Regions from separate parts of the Homo sapiens genome. Here region 1 is linked to region 2. Evidence: promoter capture Hi-C in 16 types of primary human blood cells and fetal thymus (Javierre and others, 2016). All regions are on one chromosome and are shown on one strand. The core of a region is centred on a gene start or on the middle of the fragment in contact, and the rest is flanking DNA. Distances in the headings are between cores, read along the strand shown.

Region 1 (2,988 bases), core at 446-2,945, 990 kb after region 2:
ACCTGGCTAATTTTTGTATTTTTAGTACAGATGGGGTTTCACCATGTTTGTCAGACTGGTCTCGATCTCCTGACTTCGTGATCTGCCCGCCTCGGCCTCCCAAAGTGCTGGGATTATAAGGGTCAGCCCCCACGCCCGGCCCCCAAACCCCATCTAATCATGAAGAAAACATCAGAAAAGGCCAGGGGCGGTGGCTCACTCCTGTAATAATTAAAAAATTAAAATTAAAAAAATCAGCTGTGGGCATGGTGGCGGGCACCTGTAGTCCCAGCTACTCAGGAGGCTGAGGCAGGAGAATGGCGTGAACGCGGGAGGCAGAGGTTGCAGTCAGCCGAGACTGCGCCACTGCACTCCAACCTAGGCGACAGAGTGAGACTCCATCTCAAAGAAAAAGAAAGAAAACATGAGAAAAATCCCAATAAAAGGACTTCCGTCAAAAGGCTTGCCCAGTGCTTTTCAAAGCTGTCCAGGTCATTCATCTGAATCAAGAAACGTCTGGAAAACTGTCCCAGCCAAGAGGGAACCCAGGTAGAAGTAATAACTAAACACCCTGTGGAACTGTGGGGCCTGTGAAAGGAAACTAACCCGGGCCCCGACAAGCTGGGAAGTGCCCAGGGCAAATCGGCCTCTCATTTTATTCAAGGTCACCCCTCTGCTTACTGAGATAGACGCATATTCTAATTGCCTCCTTTGGAGAGGCTAATCAGAAACTCAAAAGAAGCAACCATATGTTTCCCACCTACCTGTGACCTGGAAGCTCCCTCTCTGCTTCCAGTTGTCCCCGCCTTTCTGGAAGGAACCAATGGACTTCTTACATATATTGATTGATGGCTCATGTGTGCCTAAAATGTATAAAACCAAGCTGTGCCCCGACCACCTAGGGCACATGTCATCAGGACCCCATGAGGCTGTGTCACAGGTGCGCATCCTTAACTTTGGCAAATAAACTTCCTAAAATGATTGACAATTGTCTTCTAATTTTCTTGACTGACAGACCCTGGATGGGATCCTAAACATTAGAAAAAAACTAAAGAAATCTGAATAGGGTATGGGCTGGTTAATAGTAATGTATCAAGAGTGGTTGGTTAATTGCCACAAATGCACCGTACTAATTGAAGATGTTTATGACGGGGGTATAAAAGAGCTCCTTGTGGTATGTTTGAAACTTTTCTGCAAATCTGAAATCATTCTGAAACAAAAAATGTAACTTAAATCGACATTAAATGTCAAATTGCACTCTGTTAAAGAATCAAGATTAAGATTCAAGTTCCTCTCAATAAACTACAGATTAAAAACCCCTCAAAGGGCCGGGCACAGTGGTTCATGCCCTGTAATCCCAGCACTTTGGGAGGCTGAGGCAGGTGGATCACCTGAGGTCAGGAGTTTGAGACCAGCCTGGCCAACAAGGTGAAACCCCATCTCTACTAAAAATACAAAAATTAGCCATGTGTGGTGGTGTGTACCTGTAGTCCCAGCTACTCGGGAGGCTGAGGCAGGAGAATCGCTTGAATCCGGAGGTGGAGATTGTAGTCAGCTGAGATCGTGCCGTTGTACTCCAGCCTAGAGACAAAGCAAGACTCTGTGTCAAAACAAAAACAAAAACAAAAAACAAACAAACAAAAACCCTCCAACGATCTCCTCAATCTCTTCTAACTCTATGCATGAGAATCTGTAAATATTATAGCAGCAGGCAGCATTACAGAGCCCCAAAAGACCTATGTTCGTTCAACATGCCCTGATTCACTATTTCGCCCAAGGAGACTCTGATAGCAGAGGCGACATGTCAGTTCATCTTTTATTCAATGCAGAAGTGTCCCAGATTGATTCTGTCTTCAGAAACTGTGCTGACTGCAATACTCTAAAAACTGAGCCTATACCTGGGTAAGCTGGTTTTCTGTGAAACAAGTTTATAGGAGAAGCATCACAGATCACCCAGTGTTTAAAATATCACTGCATTCAAATATCATTATTTAAAAGAAATGAATACAATCATCATAATAAAAATGCAATCTTTCCAGCATGAGTTTCTGGGGAATCTGCATATTTTTGATCCTCTTGGGTCCTGTGTCATCCTCCCTGACACGGAGATAACATTGTAAACGTGAGGTTTTTGAAATTACGTAAGTGATATTCTGTGAAATATCAACCATAATGATTGTATGCAGTAAGTGTTCAATAAATACTAAATGTGATTTTTGTGATGTGCGATACATGTCAACGCTTCACTTTAAAATTGGTGGAATTACTCTAATAATTATTTTCCCATGAAAAATGTGGTATTTAGCACTTTTATTGGCATCTTACACACAGTGTGTCTGTTATTCCCCCAGACATTGTAGGTTAGTCTTCGCTTCCCTCCCATTTCCTCTCCTCTCCTCCCCTTTCCTTTTTCCTCACTCTCTTCCTCCCTTCCTCTCTCTCTCTCACCCTCTCTTTCCTTCTTTCTTCCCTCCCTCCCTCCCTTCCTTCCTTCTCGACAGGGTCTTGCTCTATCACCCAGGCTGGAGTGCAGTGGCACACTCACACCTTACTGCAGCCTCAAACCCCTGGGGTCAGTTTGTCTTTCCATCTCGGCCTCCTGAGTGGCTGGAACTATAGACAAGCACTCACCATACTCAGCTAAATTTTTTTATTTTTTGTAGAGCTGGGGGTTCTCACTATGTTGCCCAGGCTGGTCTTGAACTCCTGGGCTCAAGCAATCTTCCCACCTTGGCCTCCCAAAGCACTGGGGTTATAGGCATGAGCCACTGCACCCAGCCTGGGTGATAGAGTTATTTTTTTCTTATATTTCATCACATATCCATGCCTGGGTTACCTTCCATAGTGTTATTTTACCACAACGACAACAAAATTCCTTTAAAAATTTTTTTCTAGAAATCCATAAATACATATGTCAACAAAGTTAAGCTGTTGAGTTAAGCCTAGTTAGGTGAAGGTTTGCCTTAGAGGTAGTGTGTTTAGACTTGACTTGGGAAAAATAGACACATA
Region 2 (3,021 bases), core at 368-2,867:
AACGGCGCAGTCAGGTGCACCTGCTTCCCCACGGGCTTCAGCTCCTCAGCGGTTTTCACTTAGGGCTCTCGCGCTTCAGACTTCTCATCCACGTTACGTAAAGATAACAACATGGGAAGAAACAACCACACACACACACACACACACAGACACACACACAGACACACACACACACACACACACAAACCCTTTTCTTTTTGGGAACAGAGCCACGTGACCATGGTTCCCCTTTATAGAAATGGGACCTAAAGCGCCACAGCAGGCCTTGTTGTGTGTGGCCTGAAATTCCCAGAGCAGCTCCCTCTGCCTTTTCTCAGCTTTTTAGGGGACAGATCTGACAAGACCCAAGGAATTGGGGTTTCTAAGCGGACCTGTACAAATGAGGTCTGAGGTGGCCGTGAGACCCGGGTCTGGGGTCTCCCTGGCACCGAGGGGGTGACGAGGGGCCACCGTGCTCATCCAGGCACCCATAGGGCTTTAAAACCCGTTTAATTTATGCTTACTCTTCCATTATTGGAACGCTAAGCATTTGGGAGTTATTTATATCCCACGGCTCAAGGTCATCGCCAAGGTCTCATTGCAAACATTGAAAAAACTGCAATCTCAGGCGTAAATGGGTTACGTGCAGCAGCCGCAGCTGCTTACCCTCTCTAAGGTTAACCTCAAGAGAGGCGCATTTCATGGAATGAGTTTTTTTTTGTTTTTTTTTTTCTAAACAGAGTCTCGCTCTGTCGCCCAGGCTGGAGTGCAGTGGCGTGATCTCTGCTCACTGCAAGCTCCACCTCCAGGGATCATGCCATTCTCCTGCCTCAGCCTCCCGAGTAGCTGGGACCGCAGGCGCCCACCACCAAGCCCAGCTAATTTTTGTATTTTTAGTAGAGACGGGGTTTCACCGTGTTAGCCAGGATGGTCTCGAACTCCTGACCTCAGATGATCCACCCACCTCGGTCCCCCAAAGTGCTGGGATTACAGGCACCTGCCACCACGCCTGGCTAATTTTTGTATTTTTAGTAGAGACGGGGTTTCACCGTGTTAGCCAGGATGGTCTCGAACTCCTGACCTCGTGATCCGCCCACCTCGGCCTCTGAAAGTTCATGGAATGAGTTATTAAAGGAAGGGTGGCTTGCAGCCCTGGAAAATTTGAGCATTTCTCCCCTAAGTGACGAAGCGGCTGTGCAAAGTCTTCCTCCCAGGAAATTTGCACTCCTGGTCTGCTCTAGCGTGAGGAGAACACGCCTCATGGAGTTTGCACCGTCTTCCCCCATGTTCTCACCGTACACGGACCCTCCCAGCGACCCTGTCTTCTCCCTTGACAGTGCAGGACAAGCATAAAAGTCCAGCTCGGCGGCTCACCTGTGCAGAAGCAGCGGCAGAAGTAGCAGGTGAGAGCTCAGAGGGTCTCCAGGTAACAGGATGCAACGCTTAAGTCGACGGCCGTGCCTCAGAGCCCGGGACTCGGGGGGCCAGCCACCAGCTTGCAAGCCGTGGTCACTCAAAGTGCTTGAGAAGGTGTTCGTGGGCGGCAGACGGCTGCCCTTCCAGTTCCATCTGTCCAGCAACCTTGCAAAGGCGGCCGCTTCGCTGGGTGGCCCACCGGCTGGCACGACTGTCTCCGAATGCAAATTCTGCAAACTCCACCTCCCAGCGCACCACCACGGTTGCGACTCAGGCTTAGGTGGAAAGGAAGTGTGTTGTGACATTTCCTCTGTAACTGTCTGAACACTCATGTGCAGGGCTGAGCCCACTGGAGTAACGTCGCTGTGTCTCTGGGCAGCACCGTTAACCGCCCACCTCCCTATCACTGGCTCGCAGGGGGCCCTACTCTTAAGAGAACCCTGAGAGTGAGGAAAAGAGGGAGAATGATTTTTCTAAATTTTGTAACCAGCAGTGAAGAGCCGTGGCATGCTCCAGAACCGATTCCTGTTTCTTCTGAAATAACAAAACAAAACAAAGAAAGAACAGAACACGTTTCCTTTTAGACTCTAAAGCTGTGCTCATTGCGACATCTCTTGGTACACAGCCAGACTGTGACAAGCGAACAGACCTTGGGCACTGATCATTCCGGCTCTCACAGTTGGTCACGGGCGCTGCAGGCTCATATCCTCAACATCCCATGGGGGATCGGCCAGTTTCAGGAATGAGAACCAGGTTTCCGAGCTCTGGTATCCTTGCTTGTGAGGAGCAACGGTTGGTTCTTGTCACTCGTGGGAGGAGGTTGAGAGGGAAGGATCTGTCACTGAGAAAGAATGAATGAATATTGAACCACTGCTCAGGGAAAAGACATGGTAGAATCAATCCCTCAAGCCAGGCTGGGTGTGGTGGCTCACGCCTGTAGTCCCAGCACTTTGGGAGGCCAAGGCGGGTGGATCACTTCAGGTCAGGAGTTTGAGACCAGCCTGGCCAACATGGCGAAATCCCGTCCCTACTAAAAACACAAAAATTAGCTGGGTGTGGTGGTGGACACCTGTAGTCCCAGCTACTGGGGAGGCTGAGGCAGGAGAATCACTTGAACCTGGGAGGTGGAGGTTGCAGTGAGCCAAGATCAGGCCATTGCACTCCAGTCTGGGTGACAGTGAGACTGTCCCAAAAAACAAACAAACAAACAAAAAGACCAGGCCTGCTGGCTCACGCCTATAATCCCAGCACTTTGGGAGGCCAAGGCGGGTGGATCACTTGAGGTCAGGAGTTCGAGACCAGCCTGGCCAACATAGCGAAATCCCGTCCCTACTAAAAATACAAAAATTAGCTGGGCATGGTGGTGGATGCCTGTAATCCTAGCTACTGGGGAGGCTGAGGCAGGAGAATCACTTGAACCCGGGAGCTGGAGGTTGCAGTGAGCCAAGATCAGGCCATTGCACTCCAGCCTGGGTAACAGAGTGAGACTGTCTCAAAAAAAAAAAAAAAGTCGAGGCCTGGTGGCTCACACCTGTATTCCCAGCACTTTGAGGTGCCAAGGTGGGCCGGATCACTTGAGGTCAGGAGTTCGAGACCAGCCTGGCCAACATAGCGAAACCTGTCCCT

The links. Contacts are between HindIII fragments. The CHiCAGO score rates a contact against its expected background, and 5 or more counts as called.
Region 1: a fragment that was not itself captured here is called in contact with the fragment with the promoter of P2RY8 in region 2 in 1 of 17 cell types (total B cells); the score reaches 5.0 in total B cells.

What each region holds. Positions count from the first base shown.
Region 1 is chrX:2,523,390-2,526,377 of GRCh38, forward strand. No RefSeq gene overlaps it. Among named protein-coding and RNA genes, the nearest start is that of ZBED1, 24 kb to the left of the region's middle. The HindIII fragment of the contact is 8,308 bases long and covers 1-2,988 here.
Region 2 is chrX:1,535,568-1,538,588 of GRCh38, forward strand. It overlaps P2RY8 (P2Y receptor family member 8), which reads right to left and starts at 1,618. Exons shown (of 2, transcript NM_178129.5): 1 at 1,354-1,618. The HindIII fragment of the contact is 32,946 bases long and covers 1-3,021 here.